Regions from separate parts of the Homo sapiens genome. Here all the other regions are linked to region 2. Evidence: promoter capture Hi-C in 16 types of primary human blood cells and fetal thymus (Javierre and others, 2016). All regions are on one chromosome and are shown on one strand. The core of a region is centred on a gene start or on the middle of the fragment in contact, and the rest is flanking DNA. Distances in the headings are between cores, read along the strand shown.

What was found. The method cuts DNA at HindIII sites, captures the fragments that hold promoters and counts their contacts. A CHiCAGO score of 5 or more calls a contact.
Region 1: a fragment that was not itself captured here is called in contact with the fragment with the promoter of CARNMT1 in region 2 in 2 of 17 cell types (total B cells and total CD8 T cells); the score reaches 8.1 in total B cells.
Region 3: a contact is called between a fragment that was not itself captured here and the fragment with the promoter of CARNMT1 in region 2, in 1 of 17 cell types (erythroblasts). The highest score is 5.6, in erythroblasts.
Region 4: the fragment with the promoter of KLF9 here is called in contact with the fragment with the promoter of CARNMT1 in region 2 in 1 of 17 cell types (total B cells); the score reaches 6.3 in total B cells.

The regions. Positions count from the first base shown.
Region 1 is chr9:70,254,872-70,258,718 of GRCh38, forward strand. SMC5-DT (SMC5 divergent transcript) reads right to left here. Exons shown (of 4, transcript NR_039990.1): 1 at 3,525-3,847; 2 at 3,044-3,064. Among named protein-coding and RNA genes, the nearest start is that of SMC5-DT, 2.1 kb to the right of the region's middle. RefSeq lists an enhancer at 3,674-3,847. The HindIII fragment of the contact is 423 bases long and covers 2,387-2,809 here.
Region 2 is chr9:75,025,771-75,029,751 of GRCh38, forward strand. It overlaps CARNMT1 (carnosine N-methyltransferase 1), which reads right to left and starts at 2,523. Exons shown (of 8, transcript NM_152420.3): 1 at 2,242-2,523. The coding sequence starts at 2,471. RefSeq lists an enhancer at 1,355-1,404 and a silencer at 2,055-2,744. The HindIII fragment of the contact is 4,364 bases long and covers 992-3,981 here.
Region 3 is chr9:71,890,051-71,893,957 of GRCh38, forward strand. The region is part of intron 1 of ABHD17B (abhydrolase domain containing 17B, depalmitoylase); the gene reads right to left. Among named protein-coding and RNA genes, the nearest start is that of ABHD17B, 19 kb to the right of the region's middle. The HindIII fragment of the contact is 676 bases long and covers 1,419-2,094 here.
Region 4 is chr9:70,412,689-70,416,542 of GRCh38, forward strand. It overlaps KLF9 (KLF transcription factor 9), which reads right to left and starts at 1,969. Exons shown (of 2, transcript NM_001206.4): 1 at 171-1,969. The coding sequence starts at 675. It overlaps KLF9-DT (KLF9 divergent transcript), which reads left to right and starts at 1,502. Exons shown (of 4, transcript XR_001746710.3): 1 at 1,502-1,722. LOC124900273 (a long non-coding RNA gene) reads right to left here and starts at 118. Exons shown (of 2, transcript XR_007061576.1): 1 at 1-118. RefSeq lists enhancers at 2-111, 450-1,303, 1,132-1,211, 1,552-1,681, a silencer at 662-841 and a promoter at 1,018-1,820. The HindIII fragment of the contact is 11,812 bases long and covers 1-3,854 here.

The sequences.
Region 1 (3,847 bases), core at 1,348-3,847, 4.8 Mb before region 2:
ATCACAAGTTCAGGGACTCATTCTAAAATTTCAAGTTTAGAAACACAATTTGATTAGTTCACTAAAGACTAATCACATAGAAGGAATACATTCTAATGTTTGATAGCACAGTAGAGTGACTATAGTTAACAATTATCTATTGTATTTTTCAAAATAGCTGGAAGACTTGAAAGGGACCCATCACATAGACATTATAAATACCCTAACTTAATCATTACATATCATACGCATGTAACAAAATTGCACATGTACCCCATTAATATGTACAAATATATATATATTCAAAAAATAATTTTTAAAAAGCTGAGGAGGAAAGAACAAATTTTAAAAAGCTGGAGGGGAAAGAACAAATTAAACTTTAACAGAAAGTTAATTACGAAGATAAGTAGAAATTATGAAATCAAAAGTCAACAAAAGCAAAAATCAAGTTGTTCCTTTAAAAAGATTAATAAAACATACGTAACCTCTACTAGATTAATAAATGAGAGGAAGAAATGAACAATTTACCAGTATCAAGTGAGAAAGAGGAAGCATCACTATAGATGCTGCAAACGTTAATGGATATTAACACATAACTTCATGTAATAAGTTTGACAACTTAGATGAAAAGGACAAATTACTTGAAAAGCACAACCTATTAAAACTGACTCAAGAAGACACAGAAAATCTGAAATTATTTAATCATGCTATTCACACAGCTACTTCAGAGGCTCCAAGTCTTATAATGTGGGGTTTCTTGGCTCCTTACCCCTCTCCTGGGGGATCTAGGAAATAAATGTTGCTATTGATTGCCAAAAAAGGGAAGAAAAAAAAGGACTGATCATTGTACAAAAATGATGACTAGCTCCCTGCCCTCAGCTCCCATTACTAATGTCTATAATTCTTATTTGTTCATCAGGGTAGATTCCCCTAAATGTAGTAACTTCATCAAACAATCTGACTTTTCTACAGCTCTTGAAGCAGAGCCTTTACTTTTCAAAAAATTCATGCTAGCAACTCAGGGAAGGACAGTATTGTGCCCTCCTGAGCACTGAGTTTTTTCGTTACTCACCGCCATTTGAACAGTTTAAAAATTATTCTTTATTTTTGTTGCAGTCTCACCAACGCACCTTAACGTAGCAGTTTCTCATTGTCTGAACTAGTACCCTGGGTTCTTTGTCCTCACGTCCAAGAAAATTAAGGAACGTGGACACAAAGGTGGGGTTGGAGCAAAAGTTTAATAAGTGAAAGAAAGAAAAGAAGCTCTCTGCATTAGAGAGGGGAGTCTGACTGGACTGCCAAGTTGTAGTAAAAACGTCAGGGTTTTTATAAATGGACTAGTGAGGAGGGGTGTCTTATCTTCCCAGGGCCTGAAGATTTAGTTGGGACCAGGTGTGCTATCGGCATAGAGCAGAGTTCCTAACAGCCTTTACCCAATTCCTTGATCACATAAGCAGGCTTTTAGTTTATGCTGCTCTGTGCTGCTTTGTGTCGCTTAAGTTTCTGTGTCTGTTCCCAGACATTTTCTTGCAGCTGCAGGCATCCCCCAACCCTCCCTGTATAAGCTTCTCGCTTCCGTATCTTAGTGGGCCTAAACGGAAAGGAATGTACTTATTAAGTCTCACAGTTTTTACTGGGGCCCATTGTATGAGTATGAAGTCGAGACTCTCCCACTCCTGTGCTTGTTTATCTGTGCTTAAAGCTGTCTATCTGTCCAGGTGCAACCTGAGGTTTTCCCAAGGTTGTTTTATTTTTTGCCTGTTGCTGTGACTTTTCAGGTAGGCTGCTGCTGCAGTCTGAATTTTTTCAATGATTTTTCCTTCCCGTCTCTCTCATTTTCATTTGCATTTAAGAAAATTTCCAGTAACTACGACAAGTTCACATGCTTTTTACTTACTCTATTTTCTCTGGAGCGGAGTCCTTGTGTGAGAGGAAGCAGCAGAGACCTGGGAAAGGAGCTTTGGTCTAGGAGTCAGGAATCAGGGATCTACTGCAATAGCTTTCTAAGTGGCCTTCCACTTCCACACTTGGTGCCCTCTAATCCATTTTCCACACAGCAACCAGAATTATTATTTAAAAACTTTAAGGCCAGGCACAGTGGCTCATGCCTGTAGTGCCAGCACTTCGGGACACCGAGGTGGGCGGATCACTTGAGGTCAGGAGTTACAGACCAGCCTGGCCAAAATGGTGAAACCTCGTCTCTACTAAAAATACAAAAATTAGCCAGGTGTGGTGGCATGCACCTGTAATCCCAGCTACTCGGGAGGCTGAGGCAGAAGAACCGCTTGAACGAGGGAGGCAGAGTTTGCAGTGAACTGAGGTGGCACTACTGCACTCCAGCCTGGGCGACTGGGTGAGACTCTGTCTCAAAAAAATCAAATAAAAAAAATCAAATAAAAAAATTAAAAGCTTTAGTCAGAACATGGCCCTCTCCTGCTTAAAACTTTGCAATGGCTTCCCATTGCTTTAAAAATAAAATTCAGGCTTTTCCACGATGGACAAGGTTCTGCTCTGCAACCTTGTTCACTGCTCTGCAGCAACACTGGCCTTCCCACCTCAGAGCTTTTGTCCTTACTGGTATGTTCCAGCAAAATTCTTTTGCCTGGGGTGCTCTTTTCTCAGATCGTCACAGTTTCTTCTCGTCCTTCAGAGTTTATCTTAAACACCACCACCTCTCTAAGAGGCCTTCCGTACCTCCCACCCATCAGGTTCATTTTGTTTTCTTCCTAACACCTGTCACAGTCTGACATTATGCTAATCATTTGTTGTGTCAGCCTTAAGTAGTGAAATTCAGAAAATATCATTAAGTATAGAGTTTATTCTAACGCAAAGCTTGAGGACAGCCACCTGGAAACACCAACTCCAAACAAATAGGGTCAATGTTCCAAAGTGAAGTTAAGGTTTCATTTACACAGGCAGAAACAGAGAAGGTTCAGCAGGAGTACATTTTCAATACAAGAGCAGTGCATAAATTACAGCGATTAGATTAGTTATAGATAGCTACATTCCAAGGAAGATAACTATATTAATTTATGAAGGGGGTAGTGATCTGAGGGGGTCTTACCTCTGTCTCTGTTTGGTCTTCCTGATTATAGGAAAAAACAAGGCAGACATTGCAGCTGTATGCCATGGGACTCAGGCCCCATCGCCACATTCTTCGCAAGGCTCAGAATAATTTAAAGTTCCAACAGCTTTAAGTTTGAATTATTTAATTTCACAGTTGATTCACTTGTTCTTTTCCTGTCTCCCACAATAGAAAATAAGCTCCCAGGGATGCAACCTTGGCAGGCTCCTAAACTGCCACGGCTCCAGTTTCTTGTAGATTAGATATTCACTGTTGGTTAAATGAAAGAAGTTCTAGACAGGCCTCGGTGTGCTGCCTCCTCTTTAACGAGAGGGCTTACTAGATGAATGTGAGCAGACGGAAGCAGAACACCCTCTTAATGAAGGCAGCGCATTCCAGCTCAGGGATTTCTAGAAACCTCGGGGGCGGAAGTTTAACCAGAGAATTAGGAGGCAAGGGGAAGAGTAGCAATGAGGTTAACCTGTGCAGTGTAGTCATTTCACGAGTTTGAGAACGCCTAGCACGATGCCTTAACGGAGCGTCGGGCACAGAGTCATTTGGGAGGATTTCTTTTTCGGATTTTTGAGACAGGAACCTGATTTGAAGCAACAGGGAAGAACACCAAGAGGACGAAGAGCCAACGACGGGCGTGCCCGGGAGCTCTCACCTGGAAGGGGTGGGAGCAAGCAGGGCCTGACGTCCTCCCGCCTTGGCGGCCGTGGACGCCCCAGGTGCCACCCACAGCAGCCTCCCACCACACATGACTGAGGCTCGGGAAGCAATAAAGTGGCTTTCAAAATACTA
Region 2 (3,981 bases), core at 1,273-3,772:
GTAGAACCGGATTGTCCATCACAACCTACTTCGATAATGGAAAAGCTTTTATTTGCACTGTCCAGTACAGCAGACTCTAGCCACATGTAGCTATTGAGCACCTGAAATATGGGTAGTGAAACTGAGCAACTAAATTTTAAAGCTTATTAAATACTAATTAATTTTAGCTTAAATTTATCCAGATATGATTAGTGGCTACAGTTTAAGTCTAGAAGATCACAAAATATTAGAATGTAACAATCCACTGTTCTCTGCTACATAAACTTTCTGTACCCCTAGGCTTTAAGTGACATTTTAAAAAGCATATTTTTGATGTTATACTATTTTCAGCCCAAGTATTTGAAGTGTTTCAAGAGAGTATATACAAATAAAAACTGTTTTTTTTAAAAAATGAAATGTCCTGAATCCAACATTACGCTGGTAAAGAAGAGAGTATAGGAAATAGTATCACAACCACTAGAATATTCACACAAGATCTCTTCTCTATATTGCCACACTTCAGTTCCTGATCAACCCCTACCCCAACAAAGTCCCATCCCATACTTACCCATAAATATCAATTTTAAATTGGTCCTAATATATTAAAAGTAAGTACAACTACGCACTTAACTAAATGGGTCCACCATATTCCCAAGACATTTCCCAATATTCTTTCTAGATTTTTCAAGAGCAAAATGTACCAGACTTTTCTGTATCTCCCACTCTTAGCTATCTGATGTTAGCTGCCTTTCCTAACTTTATGGTTCTTTCCGTCACAATTCCTGCATCAAATTCAATTCTCTGATGGTCTGACGCCTTGCTCCCTCTGTTACTACTAAACCTGGAGAAATAAAATATCCAAACTTCTCTTTTGGGCTCCGTAAAGTAATGCTGTCCCTGGTCCCTATTTCTGGGTTTAATCAGTAAATTATTTCATCAAGATCTTCGAAGTTCAAAAGTTCCTATCACATATACAATCAGATTCCAAATAACTTTAAGCTTTCACTAAGCAAGCTTCTAAATTCAGACTAGTAAACTAATTTAACTATCAGTCAAAAACTTGACAGACTATTTGGGAATGAGAAATGTATTTCTTTGCTACTATTTGTTTTGTTAAAAATAGAGCTTAAACAACATATGCCAAGCACTAGTGACATAAAAATAAAAAAGACTCAGCCCCTGCCCTTGAGGAGGTCACAGCAAAGCAAGAGATTTATAAAAACAACTATAATACATAAGATGAACAATATAAAAAAACTTTGCATAAAGCACAGCAGGAACCCACCTATGGGAACAGGTTTACCTGCGTAGGAGGTCATGTCTGTCTGATTCCAACTGCAGCCTCAGAACATAGTCACCGGTGGACTCATATCTCTTACGTGAATAAAAGTGTTATCTTCACCTGAAAATCCAGTTGATTTAAGTCCCTTTCAGCTCTTGGAATTATAATTTTGTGATTAAGCTACTTTAACATCTATCTAGAAGAAACGTGGAAGTTAGGGAGCTGTTTTTATGAATGAGGAGCATAAAGGTCCTACCACAGTGCCTAGCACACCAGGGAGAATTAGATACAGATTTGCAGAAAAAAAGAACGTAAAGGCAGCTCTTATTGTGACTTCTCTCATCTCTCCTAATAATTAGCAAATTTTAGAATATCCGGACCACTTCCGCCCTTAATCACCCACCAGTTAAAGACACTGAGCAGCATCATTCAATCGCTCACACAAAAGTGCAAGTGCGTTCACAGCGCCAAAGAGGGGTGGGTGGAAATCTTAAACTGCTCTTACAAGCACTGGTAACAGTTTGGGAAAATACGTCCTACAGCATCCCACGCGTAGGTGAACTTGGGCTCTCCGTGTGTTCAGTTTGGAGGACATCGACCACACACACCAATCAGCCCAGCAGTGGACGATTGTACCACCATCGTCTTCTATCTGAAATTGTTACAGCGCTTCTCTGGTCACCCCCATCGGCCTCAAAGCCAAACCTTTACGAGGACGGAGGCAGGAGAGCTAATCTGATCCTGAGGTCAGAAGACACGAGGCTGTGCAGCAGACGGCGCGGCGGACACGCGGGTGTGCAGGGCCGGGAGGGGCTGGGGTGGTGCGAGGTGACTCGGGGCCCGGAGGTCAGCTGCAGCAGCCGGGTCCCGACGCCTCGGAGGCGTGGCGGCGGGACGGCGAGCGCCCCCGTTCCGGCGGGTCCGCCGCCACCAGTGGGCGCCCCGACGGTCTGGGCCGGGGTCCGCCACGGGCTCCTTACCCGTAGTAGCGGAAGGCATTAATGATCTTCCAGAAGTGCTCACGCTCAAGCCTCTCCTCCTCCTCCTCGGTGCTGCGCGTGGCCGCCGCCGCTGCCGCCGAAACCGCCGCGGCCGAGCCCCAACGCCCGGCGGAAAACTGCACTTCCACCTCCTCGCTGCCACCGCCTCCTCCCCCGCAGCCCTCGGGCAGCCGGGAGGTGGGCGGCGGAGGGCGACGCCGTCGCTGCATCGCCGCCGCGGCCCTCGGCCTGGCTCGCTTGCGTCTCTCCGCGACCGACAGCGTGGTGGCGGCTGCTTGGCCTTCCTCTAGACGGCGCCCGCCGCGGACATGCCCCCAGCTCGCGGCGCGCTCCGCCCCCGCCACCCTCAGGCCTCCATCCGCGCTGGGCTCCGCCAGGTCTTCAGGGCTCCCAGAACCAATGCGCATGCGTGTGCCTTGGTACGCGGAGGGCCCGTGCGGTCTGCGCTCATTTGCTGCCGGGCTTCGGAGACAGCGCGCTGACGTCACAACCACGCTTCCAAGGGCGGGGCCAAGGCCCCTTGGTGGGAGGCGGAGGAGGAGCTCGTAGGTGGGGTGGGACTGGCACTGCCGTTACCTGTGCGCGGCCGCGTGGGTGGGACTTAAAAGCCGGCGAGTGCCGGATTGTTGAGCTGGAGGCTGAACGCGGTCCCAGGCACTAGCAAAGAAGGGAAAGGCAAAAAGGAAAAGTTCGGCTTTGATGATTTTATTCGGAATTTTTATTTCAGAAAGTCTAGAAGGAACGTCTTGTATCCACCCTAATTTAAGTTTTAATTCACTTCCTAAATGAATTCCTATTTTTAATTACTTAAGGGGGTCGGAAGTGGGCGCCATCATCTTTTCACTTTTTTTTTTTTCCCCACTCTGTCGCCCAGGCTGGAGTGCAGTGGTGCGATCTCGGCTCATTGCAACCTCTGCTTCCTGGGTTCAAGCGATTCTCCTGCTTCTGCCTCCCGAGTGGCTGGGATTACAGGCGCGCGCCACCACGCCCGGCTAATTTTAGTATTTTTAGTAGAGATGGGGTTTCACCATGTTGGCCAGGCTGGTCTGGAATTCCTGGCCTCAGGCGATCCACCCTCCTCGGCCTCCCAAATTGCTGGGATTACAGGCGTGAGCCATCGCGCCCGTCCCATCTTTCCAGTCTTTAGGGGCTTGCGGCAGTCCTAATTCCTCCTTTACTGAGGATGGCAACAGATGAGGAAAATGCAAGGACCTTCTATCCAGCACCTGGTCTTGGGAAGACCATTACACCTACCAGCATCTAAGGGTGGCTCTTGGGAAATAACTTATTCTGGGGCCGGGCGCGGTGAATCACGCTTGTAATCCCAGCACTTTGGAAGGCCTAGGTGGGCGGATGACGAGGTCAGGAGATCAAGACCATCCTGGCTTACATGGTGAAACCCCGTCTCTACTAAAAACACAAAAAATTAGCCGGGCTTGGTGGCTGGCGCCTGTAGTCGCAGCTGCTCTGGAGACTGAGGCAGGAGAATGGCGTGAACCCGGGAGGCGGAGCTTGCAGTGAGCCGAGATCGTGCCATCCAGCCTGGGCGACAGAGCGAGACAGCGTCTCAAAAAAAAAAAAAAAAGAAAAGAAAAAGAAATAACTTATTCTGTTCAATTTAATCCACCACCCAGCAAATGAGTCTTACAAAGTAATGATAAAAGGGAAAGATTGCTTTATTCGAGGGGTTAAATATGCCCAGTGACCACAAAGTCTGTT
Region 3 (3,907 bases), core at 507-3,006, 3.1 Mb before region 2:
AGGAGTTTCAAGACCAGCCTGGCCAACATGGTGAGACCCTGTTTCTACTAAAAATAAAAATAAATAAATAAATAAATAAATAAATAAATATTAGCTGGGAGTGACGGTGCATGTCTGCAATCCCAGCTAGTCGGGAGGTTGAGACAGGAGAATAGCTTGAGCCCAGGAGACAGAGGTTGCAGTGAGCCAAGTTTGTGCCACAGCATTCCAGCCTGGGTGACAGAGCTGGACTCTGTCACACAGACACACACACACACGAAAGACTGAGAAGATTTACCCTAATTCCCACCTTCTATGCTCATTCTGATTTATTTTAGTTTGTATTAGTTATAACTTTAGATATTATAGCTGAACCTGTATTTCTTATTCTATCAACTTTAGGAAGTTTCTTCTGGCTCCCCCATGTAATCATATACCATTATTGCTGACTATACAATTAAGTTTCACATTAAGTTTTATATCATTTGCAATTTATTAAGTTTTTATCTATTGGTTGATTCTCATTAATTGGATAATAAAAAGTACTTACAGTGTCATTCACTGCCCATCCAAGGGGCATGGTAAAACTCAGAGAATAAACAGCAATTTTATGTCACTAAATTCCAAGTGTCAAGGTGTTTACATTCTTGATACTCAATTACACCTCACTGTTCAAAAATAAGGCACATTTTCGTTTGCTTCACATTTGGACTTTCAGAAGAGGCTTTAATTTTCTGAAGTTTTTGCCTTTTTATTACATTTAACATATTCCAATTTATTAGAATTTGTTCAACAAAATCCATGTTGTTCTTAAAGACATGTTTAGACCCCAGTGATTTCTGTTTTAATTTGAAATAATTATGTTCTGGGTTAGTTCACAGCCCAGTTGCCTGCCTACCTAGTACTTCTTTTCATCACATACCTCTGTTGATTCTGAATCTCAAGCTCCTTTTTGTAAGATTTTTTTGTTTGATTTTGCTGTACTACAACTCCCAAGCACTACCCCCCACCCCCTTACCCAAAGGTCTGGCGAAGTAAACTACACTGTTATGTATACTTCCACACTTACAGCAAACTAGGTCTGCTTCAGAATTATAGGTTGTTTCTTAAAATTCTCCTCGAAATTTAAATCATTGGTCCACATTTTCTAGTACCAAGTAATAAAAGTGTCTACCAATCTGATTTTTTAAAAGTGATTCTCATCTCTCAAAAATATTTATGAGATTTCCCTACATCCTTAGCTCTGAAATTTCATAAGCCTATTATCTAAATGTGTGTTATTGTTTGTCCATTTTGTTTTATACTTAATGGGTCCATTTGATCTAAAGCCCCGAGTCTTTACTTAGCTCAGATAATTTTTCTTCTATTTCCTCTCCATCTTCTCTGTTCCATGTGGAATTCCTTTTTAGGAATCCTAGGACTATCCACTATATCTATAAAGCTTTTCTTTTTGTTCTCTTCATTTGTGTTTTTCAGGTAATGCTTGTTCATCTTGGGTTTCATGCTGTTGGAATGCTTCTTTCTTGACTGTTCATATTTCTAAGCAAAGAACTAAATTGGGTTTCCTTTATATTTGTGTAAGCCTATTGACCCAGAAGGCCTATAGTCTGAATAGGACTGACTGCAGAATTGGAACTCCTGTAACTGCTAGAATAAAGAGGATTTTGGAGATAGAGTAGTCAGTGTCAGTCTGTCTCTCACAAACACACACATACGCACTCTCTCTCTCACACACACTCATACCCTGTCTATAGGGCAAACAAGTATGTTCTGTTTATCTCTTCAATGGGACCAGAAGATACTTTACAAATATTCGAGAACATAGTACAGCTTTAACTCTTGGTCCAATAATGTAATTAAAAATTTTACCCAGTAAATTCTTCTAGTGAGATGCCAACGAAGCCTTTGGACAGCACGATAGCACAGTGTAGTCCAAAGAGCACTAAGAATCAAAAGAGCCATGGCTTTCAGTTCTAGTTTTACTATTAAAAAGCTGGTGACTTTAGGGAAGTCAATCTCTTTATACCTCATTTTCCTTTTCTACAAAGTGAAAAGCATAAACTGATAATAAGGTTTCTTCTAGTTCTAAAACTTTGTAACTAAGATGTTCTCATAAGCTTCAGATACAATCTTCCATAGTATATAAAAAGAATGAAGAAATTTATAATTTGAAAAACTTCAGGTTTTCAAAGTTGTTCCGGCTACTAAAAACAAAGCTCCTGGCCAGGCGCAGTGACTCACACCTGTAATCCCAGCACTTTGGGAGGTCGAGGTGGGCGAATCACGAGGTCAGGAGATCGAGACCATCCTGGCTAACACGGTGAAACCTCATCTCTACTAAAAATACAAAAAAATTAGCCAGGCGTGGTGGCGGGCGCCTGTAGTCCCAGCTACTTGGGAGGCTGAGGCAGGAGAATGGCATGAACCCGGGAGGTGGAGCTTGCAGTGAGAGGAGATCACGCCACTGCACTCCAGCCTGGGTGACAGAGTGAGACTCCCTCTCAAAAAAAAACAAAAACAAACAAACAAAAAACACAAAGCTCCTAAACAAGTACACTATATTTACCAAAATTTAGTTAATATAAAATTTATAAACATAAATTTACATTTAGCAAATTAATTTGGGGGGGGGAAGGCAGGTGATAAGGTGGGGGAAGTGCAGAGGTGAGAGAGTAAGGGAGGTTGTCATTTCCTACAGCTGTTTTCCAAAATGAGTGGTTTTTGTATCTTGGTCACTGTAGGGAAATAATGTTGTGTTTTTTAAATTATGGTAAAATATAGATAAAAGTTACTATTTTAAGTGTACAGTTCCATGGCATTAAATACATCCACATTATTGTGCAATTATCACCAGATTTTATTTTTCATCTTCCCCAACTGTAACTCTATACCCACTAAACAATAACATCATTTTCTTCTCCTGCCAGCCTCTGGCAACCACCATTTTGTCTCTATGAATTTGACTATTCTAAGTACCTCATACAAGTGGAATTATACAATATTTGTCCTTTTGTGACAGGCTTATTTCATTGTAGCATGTCTTAGAATTTCCCTTCCTTTTCAAGGCTGAAAAATATTCCATTGTACCTAAAACAAACTATTTTGTCCTTTGCACTCACACCACAACAATCACCAGAATACTTCTGTGACCAGATGTATGAGAGATTTCCCCCAATGCAAGCAATCGCTTCTGCAGTGGACACCAGGTGGGTGTCCTCCCACCCAGTTCAATTCCAACATTATCTACCTGGAGACAGTGTCACATCCCACAGGTTGAGGGCTCCCCACTTCCAATCCCAATCTAAAGCCCCAGGTTGTTTTACCTATGCTTCTGACTAACTGGCTATAAATTGGGGTTCCCACAACCTCTTACTCCAGTCTGATTAATGTGTTAGAGCGACGCACAGAACTCAGGGAGACAGATTTACCAGTTTATTATAAAGGATATTACAAAGGATACAGTTGAAGAGATGCACAGGGCAAGGCATGTAGGAAGGGGATGCCACCCTCCATGTGCTCAGCCATCTGGAAGCTTTCTGAATCCAGTCCTTTTGGATTTTTATGGAAGCTTTGTTAAGTAGGCAATGATTGATTAAATCACTGGCTGTTGGTATCAACTTAACCTTCACGCCCTCTCTCCTACCCAGAGATTAACAGGCAGGACTGTAAATCCCAACCCTCTAATCCTGCCTGTTTCTGGGTAACTAACATCCATCCAATAGCTACCTAGAGGTGCATGGCTTTCAGTCAACTTGTTAGCATACAAAGATACTTCACTGGCCGGGCGCGGTGGCTCACGCCTGTAATCCCAGCACTTTGGTAGGCCAAGGCGGGTGGATCACAAGGTCAGGAGATGGAGATCATCCTGGCTAACATGGTGAAACCCTGTCTCTAATAAAAATACAAAAAAATTAGCTGGGTGTGGTGG
Region 4 (3,854 bases), core at 719-3,218, 4.6 Mb before region 2:
AGTGAGCTTTCCGCCAATGCACATTTAAATTATTTAAAGAGTTAAACCGCATCTTATCCAACATGTTTGCACCCTTTCGGCCGAGTGCAGTGTCCCGAACGCCCAGGAACGCTGCCTGGCCAAAGGTTAACTAACCCCAGAGCTCCGGGGGAGAGGGCGACGCCGCTAACCTGTATGCACTCTGTAATGGGCTTTGAGATGGGAGGATTTTCCATAGACTTTCCCACAGCCACTGTAGGGGCACTTGTGCCTCTTTTCGGAGGCGTGTTTCCCCTTCGCAGCCACTCCAGGATGGAGGAGGGAGAGCGGGCTGGGCGCGCTGCCAGGATCCTGTCTCTCCTCCGGGCTGTGGGAAGGACTCGACCCAGATTCGGTGGTCACGTCGCTGTCGGATCCCATATCCTCATCTGGACTTTCCAGACTGTCGCTGCACACGGAGGGGGTCTGGATGGGTCGGTACTTGTTCAGGTCCAACAAGCTCTTGGCGATGGTGACCAGTGTGCAGTAATCCTTCCAGGTGTCCCCCGGGTCACCGTGCTCCTTGGTCACCTCGCGCTCAGGTAGTCGCAGCCGCTCGGCGTCCGGAGCGACCCCATGCTCCGGCACCGCAGCGCGGTTCGAAATGGAAACCAGACACTGGGCAGCCACGAAGTCCATGTAGGCGGCCGCGGACATGGTGCGGGCGACGGCAGCCCAGGCGGCGCGGACAAACTTGGCGGTGGCTGCGGAGGTTCGGCTCGCCCTGCCCTGGCCTCGGACGACGAGCGCGGCGCGGCGCGGCACGGCGCGGCGGCCAAGGGGGCGGGGGCGCGGGGCGCTTCCGACTCGCAGGAGCGCCGAGGCGACCTCAGCCCCTCATCTTTACGTAACCGGCAGCGCCTCCGCACGCAGCATCCACGGCCCCGGGCTCCGCCGCGCCGCCGCCTCTAGCCGCCGCCCCTGCCCCGCGCCGGCCGCGATCCCCCGACGGGCGCGCCGGCCCCTCTGAGCCGGCTCCCTTGGAAAGATGCCACACGTGGCGGTCGCAAGTTTATTCGACTGAAAACGCCCCCGAGGCGCTGGGAGAGGAAACTGCAAGAGAGGTGCACGCCCTCGGCCGCCTCGCCGTCGAGCCAAAGCCCCAGGACATTCACCCGATCACCCCGACGCGGGTGGCGAGGGTCCCGCCGAGCGCCAGGTCTAAGAGACACTTTTTCCCGAGTCCACTGACGGCTTCTGAACCCCTGCTCCGGCCGGTCCGCACCGTTCCGGCATTCTCTTGCTCAGTAACAATTTCGCAGAATCCCATCACGTCACAAACCAAACCCCCTCCAATTGGCCAGTGGGGAGGGTGATTCAACTCTGTTTACTTTCTCCCCCTGCCAGTCAGAACGGCCTTCGGTGGAGAGGTGCGTCTAGAACTGAGGCGTGCGGCCAATCCGACTGTTCCGTTTCGCTGCCTCGTGCTACCCCTACAGCCTCGAACACTGACATTTAAAAGGGTAACAGCTGGGAGGCAGGGAAGGGGCAGCCGCACACTTTCGGAGTGCCTCGCGGTCCCGTGGCCGGTCCGGGCCTCCTGGCTCACGTTCCAGCTTGCGGAGCTTTGGGACACATCTTTCCTAGTCAGTTGCGCTCGTTCCTATGGCAAAAGAGAACTTCAGCTTCGGTTTTCCAGCTCCCAAACAGTTAAGTGACTTCCTGCAAACGCTACAGTCCCAGCAACCAGCCTTCCAATCAAAAGTAAGTTGGTTGATGTCACTGGCATTGGCTCGGCCAATCACAAGGGCGTTCCGAAAGCAAGCGCTCGACACTTGTAAACGCGAAGAGCTGTAGTGAAACTGGACACATCTTTGTATTTTGTGTTGCTGGTAGTAAATTTGAGTTATGGATGAGAGGACAGGGGTGATGAATAAATGCAGTGTGAATCTATAATTAAAAAAACCCCATTATGTCAGGATAAGTCCAAGAATAAACACAAATGAGTAAGAATTCGTTTTGTTATATATTTTTTGGATGCAGCATACTTTGGGGCAGATGTTTAAAAATTCTTCCATCCAATACATTAACTATGACCAATTCATCTTAAAAATGCAGTGCTAACAAAAGTTCTGGTTTTACAGCATAGCCTTTTTACTGCCTGAGATTCTTCCATTGAAACATCCCATCTTTGCTTGTCATATCTCTTAATTCCTCTACTTCTCTGGTGCAATTTAGTCTAAATAAATTCTTTTAGCTTTATTTGGAGGCTATTTTTAACCCACTTTCAGAAAAACGGAGACAAAAACCATTCATTTGTGTAACTTTTATAAAAAACCCACCATTCTTAGCTCTTTTTCTTTCCAGAGCCCCTGCATGGTTTTTAGGACATGTTTCTCTTCCCTCACTTCACAAATGTGGAAACTGAGTTACAGAGAAGTGACTTATTTATCTTATTAGACAGATAATGATAGAACTCAATAGAAACCACAAGTCTCCTGATTTCTAGCTCTTTGTGCTTGCAACTAAGCCCTTTTGGTTTTGTGAAATATTAACTGTGCAGAACAGATTTTTAGGGACTGGAACAAGCTGGAAATCCTTAGCCATGGAATACTGTGGCATTACTTGGTCAACAATTAGTATGGGTCTTGGAGTCTGATTAACTTGGTTTACCCCTCCGTCTGAATTAACGATGTGGTTGTTTTCCATCTTGATAGCTAGAAAAGAATCTAGGGCTAGTTCTTTTTGCAAGAGGCATACTGTCAGCACAATTCATTAAAAATAATTCACTTTCGTGAATGTGAGAGGTACCTGATTCTATGTGATGCAGATTCGGTGAGTTCCAACCCTGACCCCCCACTGGCTATTAACCTTTGTTAAGAGAAAGTTACACCAGGTTCTGGTCTCCGAGGCAAGGGTCTCAAATTGACTCTACCAATGTGAGATCTACAGTAGTTTCTTTTGACTTTGTTTTTAAAGTGGTACATCAAAAATAATAATAATAAAAAAAAAGTTAGCCAGGCGTGGTGGCTCGCACCTGTAGTCCCAGCTACTCAGGAGGCTGAGGCTGAAGGACTGCGTCAGCCTAGGTCAAGGCTGCAGTGAGCCCTGATTACACCACTGTACTACTCCAGCCTGGGCAACAGAGCAAGGCCCTGTTTTTTTTGTTTTTTTTTAAATCATAACTAAGGGTGGCTCAGGTAAGTAAGAGTATAATAGATTTTAATTAAAAAATAACAAACCTGACAAGACCAGTTCAATAAAAGTGTACAGCTTAAAAAAATAAAGAAAACAACAACAAAAATATTAAAGTGGTACAGGGAAGATATTGCAGTAGGTGACTGCAGGTGGAAGAAAGGTGTAGATAGGGGATACTGGGCAACCAAGAATATCATCACCATCAGCATCATTATCACCGACCCCTTTCATGGAGGGCTTACTCTGTGTCAGGCCCTGTACCAAGCACCCTGCATGCATCCCTGTAAGGTAGGTATACAGTGTATAAAAAACTCCAAGCCATCTTGGAGTTCTTGCATTTTTAGAACTTAATCTCTTAATTTTAGAAAAGAATTCACTGAAGCCCAGGGGAGTTTGCCTACTTCATGATTTTTCTGGGACAAATTTTGTCCCCTAGGATACACGATCACTTAGAAATTGCACCTTTGCCTGCCTCAAGGCCCAGTGCATATACCAGCGGGATCTCTCCAGGATCTCTATGATCATGGCCTGTACAACCCCTCAGACTTGCATTTTAACTGGGATTGTACTGGTGAAACAGACTGCTCGGGCCTGGACATCTATAGACAGCCCTAGGACCACCATCATCATTATTCCAGAATAGAGGAAAAGTCTGTATCTTTCCTTGAAGATTATATAATCCAGGAATTTGAATACAT